Regions from separate parts of the Homo sapiens genome. Here all the other regions are linked to region 3. Evidence: promoter capture Hi-C in 16 types of primary human blood cells and fetal thymus (Javierre and others, 2016). All regions are on one chromosome and are shown on one strand. The core of a region is centred on a gene start or on the middle of the fragment in contact, and the rest is flanking DNA. Distances in the headings are between cores, read along the strand shown. Region 1 holds the start of HMCES (5-hydroxymethylcytosine binding, ES cell specific). Region 2 holds the start of SLC41A3 (solute carrier family 41 member 3). Region 3 holds the start of ABTB1 (ankyrin repeat and BTB domain containing 1).

Region 1 (3,726 bases), core at 948-3,447, 1.6 Mb before region 3:
TATTTTTAGTAGAGATAGGGTTTCACCATGTTGGCCAGGATGGTCTCGATCTCTTGACCTCGTGATCCGCCCGCCTCCACCTCCCAAAGTGCTAGGATTACAGGCGTGGGCCACCGTGCCCAGCCAACAATCACGATTTTTAAAAACATGTCAAGGTCATTTAAAATATTTAAGACATGGAGAAACTATTACTTTCTAGAACGAAGCATTTTTATTACACACACATACAAAGACACACACACTTTCAGGAGATAAGGCAAAAAACTAAAATATGAATGTAAGTGACTGGTAATTCCAACACTACAGGGATAAATACTATAAACACAATGAATGCAATTAAACTTCAGATAACCAAACCAAATACGTGTTTCTAGCCTTAGTAAAAGACAAACACAAAAAGATTGAAAACACAAGCAGAAAGAATAAAACTTTTCAATGCTCAAGAAACATCAGAAGTGTTTTAAATTAACTGATCTTAAGCCTGTCCTAGGCCTAGAGAAGTCTGATTAAGCTGGCCTGGTAAAGGGCATAGAAATATTCTTAAATTTTTTATTTTTTTAAATTTTTTCTTTAGGCAGGGTCTTGATCTGTCACCCAGGTGGGAGTGCAGTGGTACAACCATGGCTCATGAAGCCTCGACCTCCCCAGCTCAAGTGATCTTCCCACCTCATTTTTTTATTTTTTGTAGAGATGGGGTCTCCCTATGTTGCCCAGGCTGGTCTCCAACTCCTAGGCTCAAGTGATCCTCCCACCTCGGCTTCCCAAAGTGCTGGGGTTACAGGCATGAGCCATGGCACCTGGCCTTAAATTTTTTTATTATATTTTTAAGATACTCCAATGACCCTGATGATCAGTGAAAGCTGCTATTTTAAAACACAAAGCTCATATAAATTTGGCATATATTAAGGCTAGTATGCCATGTATAGCAAAGGCATTTAAATTGAGCCTGAAAAATACGTCTTTATCAGTGTTAGAAGCCACTGATAAAACTTCTTTCATGAGGCCAAGAGAGGTTCTCAACTGGAAGTCAGAATATATCAGTAAAGGCTGGTTTTTAATGTCATCCCAAGAGGCTGAGCACACACCAAACCAAATAGGAGATGACCATCACGAGGCTGGGCGAGGGGCTAGCATAGTGCAATGCTGGTTACCTTCTCAAAGTGCAGTCGAGACAGAAGCACTGGGCTGTTGGATTGAGGACTCTTGTTGTAAGAGGGGCAGTACTTATCAGGGTCCCTCCACTCCGGGAGCCGCTGCTGGCCCCGCCGATCCTGGTAGGCGCAAGCTCTCGTGAGAACATCTCTAGGTAAGTGACAGGATGTTCGCCCACACATTCTTCAACACCGCCCCTCGCAACCTTTAAATTACAAAACGTAAGGAAAAGGCTTACGTATCTCAAATATTAGGTCTTATTCCTTGAGTCCCCGCCTTCTCTTTCCGTTCCCACAGGGCCGTGCCCCTCCGTGACCACCGTCTAAAGTCTTCCCCAAAAAGTCCCACAAAGACAAGGATGTGCCCGTTTGCTTCGCTCCCTGAGCCCACTGCCCAGCTCCGTGCAGGGCACTGAGGCAAGTCCCGAGAGGAGCTCTGCAAATGCCTGCCTGAGCGCAGGAAGAGCCGCAGCGGAGGGGGCTTCACAGTCCAGCGAAGCAGGGCAAGCGCAGCTAGCTGGGGTCGCCTCCTCCGGGTGACTTGGTGCCCCCAACTCCCCGTCCTTCCCCCCAGTCCCCGCTGGGGTCAGCGACCCACGCCGGCCAGCAACCGGTCACCTCGAGGGCGGCCACTGGACGGCCCGGGGCCGGGGTGCAGAATCCCCGCCTCCCGCCCGCTAGTCCGCAGCGTCCCCGGGCCCGACCTGCGAACCTGTGGGCCGCGGATCCCGCTCCGGACTCTGCTCCCCGGAGCGGGGGCCGGTGCTCGGGGAGCAGGTGGCCCCCAGCCACCGGCCGCGATCCCTCGCCCCTCCCCGCGTCGCCTCCGCTCCGCTCCGGCCCTCAGACTCCGCCGCCCCGCGTCGCCTCACTTCGGCCCAGGCCGCCCTCTCCGCGTCGCCTCGCGTCCGCTCGGGCCTCTGCTCCCCTCTGTCAGCTCGCGTCGCTTCCTTTCCCCTCCCCTCCCCTCGCCATACCCCGACCGCCCGCGTCGCCTCCCCTCCCCTCACCTCGCCCCGGCAGCGCGCGTCACCTCCCTCGACTCTCCTCACCCCCGCTCCGCTCCGCTTTGGCCACCCGCGTCACCGCCCCTCACGTCAGCCCCGCCTCAGCCCGCGCTCCCGGCGCCAGGCCCCGCCCCCAAGGGCCCTTGGTTCCCGCGGTGCCCTCGGGCCCCGGAGGCGGCGTCTTCTCCCCTCCGGTTTGGGATGAATTTTCTCCCGTTTCCCCAGGAGACAGTGACTGCCTTGGGAGACATATCGATCCCAAGCTTCTCGGGACTCCACTTTCCTCCATATTGGCCGTTCCCTGGCGGGGTTAACCTTCCTCCCCGCCCCCAGCGTGTTTCAGGGCTGGCAGGGAAGGTTCCCGCCGCGCTGAGTCTAGGGCACAGGGTCATGGAAGGCGGGAAACCAGGAAACTCCACTCCTTACTTCACAGTCCTGCCAGCTGCCTCACAGTGCGAGGCAAAAATGGAGGAACACTGAAGAAATGAAAGTCAGAAGAACTTCCAGGAATCGCGCACTTCGCCCTCAAACATTGGTGGGCACTAGAATAAGCCTTTCCTGCCCCAGCCCCTCAGCTGAATCTCTAAGGGTGAGGCCCAGATTTTTAAAACAGCCCTTTCGGGTGTACTTTGGCCTCAAAGTTGGTAAAATAGCCTGGCTTGAGTTTAAAAGCCTGCTCCCCTTGGGACCTAAACCGGAGATTCTTCATCTGCAACCAACAGAGAATGCTCTAGAGGGCTGTTCGCCTATGCTGATTCGCTGAACTGAACAGGGAGCAGAAACCCCAGGGCACACTCCATGTAAGACCAGATGCTGGAACGATCAGACACAGGACCCAAGCCCTTTGGAGCCTCCATTTATCGACTATCAAAGGAGGATGCGTTGTGAAGAAGCACGAACGGGAGGGAGTGTGAACTCTGCCTGTTAGCTGATTCACTCAACCACCCTCTACCGCTCCCACCCCTGGGCTTGGTGCTGGGACAGCGATGACGGGGAGAGGGTCCTGCCTCACAGGACTACAACAGCCAAAGGGCTGTGGGTGCAAGGGGGACAGGGCAGGTGTTCTGCCTCTTTAGGGGAGGCCTTGAAGGGGAAGGTGGAGCCCTGAAGCATGAGTCTGCAGAAGTAGCAATCATTCAATAAATACATGCTGATTTATTACAGGGATAAGATGGTTTCTTGGGGGATAGATTCAAGAGGAGTTGAGAATGTTTTATTCATTTACAATGTCCCTTTCCTGGAAGGGTGGACAGCAAGATTTAGGACAAGCTAAAATCATCCCCTATTTAAAAAAAAAAAAAAAAAAAGTCACCAGCAAGTAGTCCCGGGTGGGAGGTGGGAGCAGAATAAAAAAAAATCTGCAATGATTCCTAATTGTTTTTCAATACAGAAGCTTGGGAAGGGGTTTCTGCCAGTTTCATGAGGAAGGCACAACTTCCAGGTAGTGTTGGGGAAGGGTATGAGGTCCTATGCAGGCTGGCCTCTTATCCCACAGATGCCAAGATGATGTCTACTGGCAGCTCCTCCAAACTTCTGGCTGTCACCTGCATTGTCACTGTGTCCAAAAG
Region 2 (3,505 bases), core at 904-3,403, 1.6 Mb after region 3:
CCACAAGGCCCCCAGTCACCCAGGAGCACGTTTTGGCTGGGAGGAGCAAATGCCTTTCTCTTTGGAGTTGAGAAAACTCAGTCTCTCATTTACCTATGAAAACAACAGTTCAATTCCTCACACAAATGCGCAGACAAGCCGAATCAAGATTAATTTTGGGAGAAAAAGCAATAAAGAAAACCCTTTAGAATGTGTCTCTGAACTAGAATTAGAATCCTTAAACAACAACTTCCTAGGAGAAAAACCAGCTCACACTAAACGAAGGACTGTCAACCAAAGGGCGATCTGGGGCTCAGGAGAACTTAACCAGTTCCATCGGGGGAGAAGCTAGAAGTCTGGGAGGCTTCAATGGGCCCCACTGGTATCTTCGCTCCGAGTTCAGGCAACTCCTTTGGGGTCCTGAGTCTTCTCTGAGGCCCCACGCTGGGTGCCAAATTATTGTGGAAGAGTCAAACTCTGTAAAATATTTGAAGAGATTTATTGTGAGCCAAATATGAGTGACCACAGCCAGTGACACAGCCTTCAGGAGGTCTTGAGAACATGTGCCCAAGGAGGTCGGGGTGCAGCTTGGTTTAATACATTCTGAGGAGGCATGAGACTTCAAGTTAAGTTCATTTAAGAAATAAATTTGTTTGATCCAGAAAGGCAGGAAAACTCAAAGAGGGGGAGGGTGGTTCTAGGGTATAGGTCAACTTAAACATTTTCTGGTTGACAATTGGTTGAGTTTGTCCAAAGACCTGGGATTAAAGAAAGGAATGTCTGGGTTAAGAGGTTGTGGAGACCAATGTGTTTTATCACGCAGATGAAGTATTCGGATAGGGTAGCAGGCTTCAGAGAGAAGAGGCTGTAAAATGTTTCTTATCAGACTTAAAGTCTGTGTTGATGTTAATGCAGGAGAGGGATAATGAGGCATGTTCGGCCTCCACTTCCCCTTATGGCCTGAACCAGTTTTTCAGGTTAAATTCTAAAAGTCCTGGCTGAGGAAGAAGTCCATTCGGATGATTTGGTGGTTGGGAACGGGGAGGTGCCTTATCATTTATTTTTTGGTTTAAAATATAATGATATATTTTACCAAGTCTTGTGAACCATCAGGCCTCCCTCAGGCCCGGACTGGGAATTGCCAATTTCGTTAGGTGTGACCGTAATACTATGAGAATGTTTAAAAAAATAGGCCTTACTGATTAAACATACTCGAGTATTTAAAGGAGAATTTATCCACTGGGATGCTTTAAAATTACTCTGGGAAAAAAGGGAAAACGAAAGGCATGTGTGGGGTGAAGCACAGACTTGTCGTTGTTGTTTTTAAAGCAAAAGGCGGGTCCCAAGGGAAGTTGGCTGTCGGTGGGTTCCCGTTCTCCGTACCTTTCTACCTTGACAGCTCCATAATAAAACCTGCAGCCGCATAGGCGCCTCTCCCGTAGCGCTCCCGCGGGGGCGCCAGTGGGGCCCCAGCTGCGAGGAGGGCCCGGGCTCGCGAGACTCGGTCCCCCACTTCCGTCCCCGCGATCCCCGGCTCCCAGCCCCCCGGGCCCCCGGCGGGGCTCTGCGCTGCCGGAGCTTGGGCGTCTGCTGCTGTCCCGGAGCGCCAAGTCGTCCGAGGTCCGGCCGCCCGGCCGGGGCGGGGCCAGGGAGGCCCGGCCTTCCCGCTTCCTGCCTGAGCCGCAGGCCCGCCCCTGCGTCCTCCGCCCGCCTCTTTCCCGCCGCCGCCTGGGAGGGGACCCGGTAAGCGCGGCCCTGTTCCGGGCGGGGTTGGGGCGGAAGGTGGGGTCAGCTGGGGCCCAAGGGGGGTCGGGGAGGCGCGCGGGAGAGGGCGCCCGGGAGTGGGTGCGCGGGAGGCGAGTGAGCCGGGCGCCGGGCCCTGGGGGCTCGGCGGGAGGGGGAGTCAGGTGGGGACCGGGATTTGGGGGACTCGGTGGGGGAAAGGCGCGCGGGAGATGAGGTAAACACGAGGGGTCGGAGGGGCGGCCTGGGGCGGGGTGGGGCCATGCCTGGGGTAGGCCACGCCTCGGGGAGGCCGGGAGAGAACCCAGGCGCTGGGGGTCGCGGGGGAGCCGGCCGGTCCTACCCTTAGGTGTCTGAGGCCGCTCCCCACACCGCTGCGGTGTGCATTCAGCGGCCCTGTCTCCTCCTTCCTGGCCTGCTCAGGGCACGGCTCCTGGTTGGATGTCACACGCGTGACTCCTGCAGCGCCCGCGCGCAGGGACCCCTCGCTGCCTCAGCCAGACCTCCCGCCAGCCTCTACCACAGGCTCAGCCCACTGTCCTGGGTGGGCTCGGTGCAAACCTCTGGTGAAGAAAACCTCCTGGGGGTGCCCAGCCGGGAGTCTGTCTCAGAGTCCCACACTCTCTCCATCCAGGAGAGCCGGTGGGATAGGTCTCTTTAAAATCCCGTTATTTATTTGTTTATTTTTTCCTCTTTCTTCCAGTTTTTTCCATATGACTTTAGTGATCAAATCCCACTTTTTTTTAGAAGGCTTTTTTTACACCAGTGGTTTTCAAACTGTGGTCCCAGGACCAGCAGCACTGCCTTTCCTGAGATCTGCTAGAAATGCGGGTTCCCCAGCCCCACCCTGACCTTCTAAATCCTAAACCTTGGGGGTGGGTCCCCATACTTGTCTTTAGCAGGTCCTCCTCGTGGTTCTGACCATTGATCTGAAACCTTAGGGCTTTGAGGAGTCTGAACTGGGGTTGAGGATGGGCCAGGTGCCCTGTGATGATAATGCATGACTCCATTTAATCTTCACAGCCCTACACAGTAGGTAGTATTACCCCATTTCACAGATTAGGCAACAGAGGTACAGAAAGTTTAATTTTTCCAAGGTCACAGACCTAGAAAGGGGAGGAGCTGGGATTCCAACCTTGGGTTCCGGCTCCAGAACATTCCCACTGAGGCGAGGTCCCCTGTGAAGGTGGGGAGGGGTGAAGCCCAGAGGTCCTGGCGGCCTCCCTGCCAGGCAGAAACCATTAGTTCCAGAATCACGACCAGCCAGGTGCGTGGTCAGCAGTGGCCCTGCCTGCCTGCCTTTGGGCGAGCCCTGGTCTGTGTGAGCTGCTGGGTCCAGGTCCCCGGGCAGGATGTGTTCGCACTGGGGTGCTGACGGGGCGCCTAGAGGCCTGGGTCCAAGGCCAACCTCACAGGGTGACACAGGGATGCTTCTGGGTGACAGAGTGTCCGTTTCCTCCTCAGTCTGATGGGGGCGGATACCCCCCAACCCCATGCTGGCAGCTGGGAGGGTGGGCAGCCTCACAGACTCAGGCGTGGCTCTGAACTGTGGCCCCAGGTGGTCCACAACCTGTCCTGCCCAGCCTAGCCCCTTTCAAGGCACAAGGGTCTCTGACCACTGCCCCATAGCAGGGTTTCTCGGCCTCCACACTACTGACATTTGGGGTGGGGCAGTTCTTTGTTTTGGGGGGCTGTCCTGTATCACCCCCTGTCGGGACAACCAAAACCATGTGCAGACATTGCCCAATGTCCTCTGTGGGGACCTTGGAGGCAATGCCTCCAC
Region 3 (3,403 bases), core at 314-2,813:
TCCTCAGTGCTGAAGGGGTGCACCAACCCCCACCCTCCCCACCCCTCTCTCCAGCACTCACAAGGGGGTGCTGTCCCACTTGTCCCGCACATTCACCTCCACGTCTCGCTGCTCCAGCAGGTACCTGGGCAGGAAGGAGGTCAGAGCCTGGGTCAGGACGGGTTCATGGTCTGAGAAAGAAGGCCCGTGGAAAGGAACGGAGAGAAAACATCCCTTTTGGTATGGGGAAGCCTCCCCCAGGTGAGGGCAGGTGACAGGCAGACCAGAGCAGGAGAGGCACTCAAGGCAAAGTGCAGGCAAGGATGTGGAGGTGGGGTCGAACAGGCAGACACTGTGTGCTATCAGTGCTGGGGGACGATGGGCTACAGGGACAGAAGCCAGAGCCAGTGCCGAGGCTGGACCTTTGGCCTTTCAGCGTTTGGGAGAGGAGGTGATGGAGCCTTCACTCCCACCAGAGCTCTCTACTGCAGGAAGAAGCTGGCCCTGTTAGAAGCAGGGAGCCCGGGAAAAAGCTGCTGCAGGCCTCCTGATGGTGTGGAGGGCACACAATTCTAGGAGGCAGGAGTCGCGGGATACAGCAACTGATGGGATGCGGAAGGTGAGCGAGGGGAGTCGCCAATGCTAATGCAGCCCCACTGAGGCGGGGGCAGCCCAAAGGAGGCCTCCAGGCTGCACCTGGAAGTGCTGTGAACCCACTCAGCGTTGACACTATGCACTAACTCTTGAGTGGCACGGGATGTCAGGGAGCGGCCCAGGGAGGCTACGGGAGTACAGCAGCCCGGCGCCAGCCCAGGGGAGGTGGAAGCAGTCAGTCAGCACCAGGTCAAGGGGGAGGAAGGGCCAAGAAAAAAGGAGGTCAAACGGGATAGTGGAAGCCCAAGGAGGGGAAGGGCCCCAGAACCCAACTGGGCACCCCTTCCCTCCGCGTCCGGCCCATGGAGGGGGCATCTCAGCGCCAGATTCACTTTAGCTGCGTCAGGAGTTTCCGAATCCTCAGGGACCGGAGGCCGATTATGGGCTCTAGGTGTTCCCCGCGCCAGGTCCAGAGAGCACGAGAGAAAGGGGCCACGTCTGGAGTCCCAGGCCTATACCCGCGCCCTGCGCCCGGGGGGTCTGACGTCCGGGCCCTACCAGGGCGAACAGTGGCCCGCCTTCTCTCCGCCCACTTCTGCGCCTTCGGGCCTCCGCTGAGCAGTCCCTTCTTACAGGAAGCCCTCCGGGGGTCAATGGCCATCAGTGTCCCCGCCCCAGCGCGCTTCCGCTGGGGGGCTGCGGCGGGGGTCCGGGTGGTCTGCCCCGCGGGGGCGCTCCGAGGGCTGTGACCCGGCAGAGGCGCCCGCCTCTCCGCGGCCGCCCAGCCGCCCGTCCCAGGGCCCGAGGCGTTCCGAGGGCGGCCACCTCCCGCACCCTCCCCGGGACTGCGAGGTCCTCACCGCACTCGGCCCACATCCCCCTTCCTGCAGCTGGCGAACAGGTCGCTGGTGTCCATGGCGCGGAGGATGGTACCCGAGCCGAACGACCTCGGGCGGCGAAGCCGCGCACCCGGCGGATGTAAACACGCTCAGCCCCGCCCCGCCCCGCTCTGCAGCGGCGTCCGGAGGACCCGCCCGCCCCGGCCTCCCCGCCCCGCGGCCCCGCCCCTGCCCCGGGGTGCCCCGCCCGCCCCGCCCCGCCCCAACCCCGGAAATAAGAATGAGTCAAGAAGGCAGACGCGCTGGGCCCGGCGTGGTCTCCGGGCGGGTTTAATTGAGTCCCGGGGCGCAGGAAGCGCCGCCCGCCGCCCGCGGGGCCGGGGTTCAGGGGCGGGAAAGCGGGGCCAAGGCGGGCTTTGAGGCCTGCCCCTCGGGCGGGAGTGAGGGAGTTGGTCCGAAGCCGCCGTGTGAAGTCGGGGGAAGCGGGAAGGAGCCCGCGCCGAGGGCCAGGCCGCGGGGGCGGCCCGGGTAGGCGCGGGGCTGGTGCGGGCTCCGGGCCGTCCGTTTCGGGGTCCACCTCGCTTGGTCCTGGCGGCCCACTCGGCCTGCGCCTCGGCTGCGCTCACAGGTGCGTGTCCTCCTCGAACACGTCCGAGTCCTCGGGGTCCCGCTTGCCCCCCATGAGCGCCCCCCAGCTCCCCGGGCCGTTGAGGGCCCCGCCGCCGTTCAGGCTGGGGTGCTTCTCCTGCATCTCCGACTGGCTGTCGCTGGCCACGTCCAGCGTGGGGTTGTCGTGGCAGCCGTTCTCCACGAAGCGCAGCTCCTCGCCGTGCGACTGAGGCGGGGTGGGGAGAGGCCATGGGCGAGCGAGCCAGCCCCCGGACAGCGCCAGGCCCGCGGCCGTCTGTGCAACCCCACCCAGGGGGTTCCCGCGGCACCCTCCACAGGTGCCAGATCCTTCTTTTCTGTTGCTGCAGCTCAACTCCTTTCTCAAAATAAACCTACTAGTCGTTGGCACTACAAAGCCCCGTGGCCTCCCTGACGTCATCGATCCCCCAACAGCCCCCTAAGAAGACTCCACTTGCGAGGTGGGCAGGGAGCATCGCTAGGGCTCTGCTCGCTTCCTCCTGGGGAGGCCTCTAGGCTGCTGGAGCCTCTCCTTGATCCTTGGGCACCACCAACGCAGGGCCTGCCTCTGGTGAGGTATTCAGGTGCTCAGGCCCTGCAGTGCCTGCGCCGGAAAGGGGCTGGTGGTGCCAGGGAGGGGCCCCCTGGTGGGGCTAGCAGCCCCCTCACTCCCTGCACCTCTGGCACCTGTCCTGGGGCTGGTGCCCTGCAGAGCAGTCAGCAGTGCTAGGCTGACCAGCTGCTTCACCCACGGGACCCTGTGCGCCCAGGAGAGTCACTGCCTCCCCTTGCAGATGAGGACACCTATCGATGGGCACTCTCCTCTCAACTGGCCCCCAGCCCCACCTGTCCCCACACTCACCACGTGCTTGAGCTTGGGCAGCCGGCGCTGCCAGCAGTTGTAGAGCAGGCCAAGCGCAATGATGATGATGCAGATGGCCCCAATGACCACCAGCACCACGAAGAGCGTGCCGTAGTCGCTGCGCACCTGGCTGGCCCGCGCCTGGCAGCTGCTGGTTGTGGAATAGTTCTGGATGCCAATCTAGGGGTGGGAGGGGCCAGTTTCCTCAGCTGAGGTCCTGGGGTGCCATGGCTCCTCTGGGGTGGTTGCATTGGGCTCGGGTGGGGATGGGGGAGCAGGCTTAGAAGGTGCTGGCACTCCCGGCTCCTGAAGTTCCCTGGCGCCTGGGCTTGCCTCTACCCCATGCCCATCCCGTTTGCCTCAGTACACCTGGAGGCCTCTCCACCCCATGCCCATGTTCCCAGCCTCCTTCACATCCCACCATAGCTTCTGCCCCAGCCGCTGAGTCTGAGCTCACTGTGGCCCTAGGCCTCCAGTGAGAGTGGACCCATGCTGCTGGACA

What was found. Contacts are between HindIII fragments. The CHiCAGO score rates a contact against its expected background, and 5 or more counts as called.
Region 1: a contact is called between the fragment with the promoter of HMCES here and the fragment with the promoter of ABTB1 in region 3, in 1 of 17 cell types (neutrophils). The highest score is 6.7, in neutrophils.
Region 2: a contact is called between a fragment that was not itself captured here and the fragment with the promoter of ABTB1 in region 3, in 1 of 17 cell types (non-activated CD4 T cells). The highest score is 5.1, in non-activated CD4 T cells.

The regions. Positions count from the first base shown.
Region 1 is chr3:129,277,341-129,281,066 of GRCh38, reverse strand. HMCES (5-hydroxymethylcytosine binding, ES cell specific) reads right to left here and starts at 2,197. Exons shown (of 7, transcript NM_020187.3): 1 at 2,162-2,197; 2 at 1,152-1,357. The coding sequence starts at 1,334. COPG1 (coat protein complex I subunit gamma 1) reads right to left here. Exons shown (of 24, transcript NM_016128.4): 24 at 3,294-3,726. The coding sequence ends at 3,643. RefSeq lists an enhancer at 1,043-1,172 and silencers at 1,593-1,982, 1,993-2,342. The HindIII fragment of the contact is 5,702 bases long and covers 1-2,423 here.
Region 2 is chr3:126,082,310-126,085,814 of GRCh38, reverse strand. It overlaps SLC41A3 (solute carrier family 41 member 3), which reads left to right and starts at 1,691. Exons shown (of 11, transcript NM_017836.4): 1 at 1,691-1,722. ALDH1L1-AS1 (ALDH1L1 antisense RNA 1) reads right to left here and starts at 1,600. Exons shown (of 8, transcript NR_190231.1): 1 at 1,363-1,600. RefSeq lists silencers at 1,344-1,893, 1,934-2,043. The HindIII fragment of the contact is 7,725 bases long and covers 1-3,505 here.
Region 3 is chr3:127,671,112-127,674,514 of GRCh38, reverse strand. It overlaps ABTB1 (ankyrin repeat and BTB domain containing 1), which reads right to left and starts at 1,563. Exons shown (of 12, transcript NM_172027.3): 1 at 1,434-1,563; 2 at 62-124. The coding sequence starts at 1,489. PODXL2 (podocalyxin like 2) reads right to left here. Exons shown (of 8, transcript NM_015720.4): 7 at 2,902-3,081; 8 at 1,713-2,247. The coding sequence ends at 2,035. RefSeq lists silencers at 1,192-1,451, 1,592-2,191, 2,202-2,281. The HindIII fragment of the contact is 11,080 bases long and covers 1-3,403 here.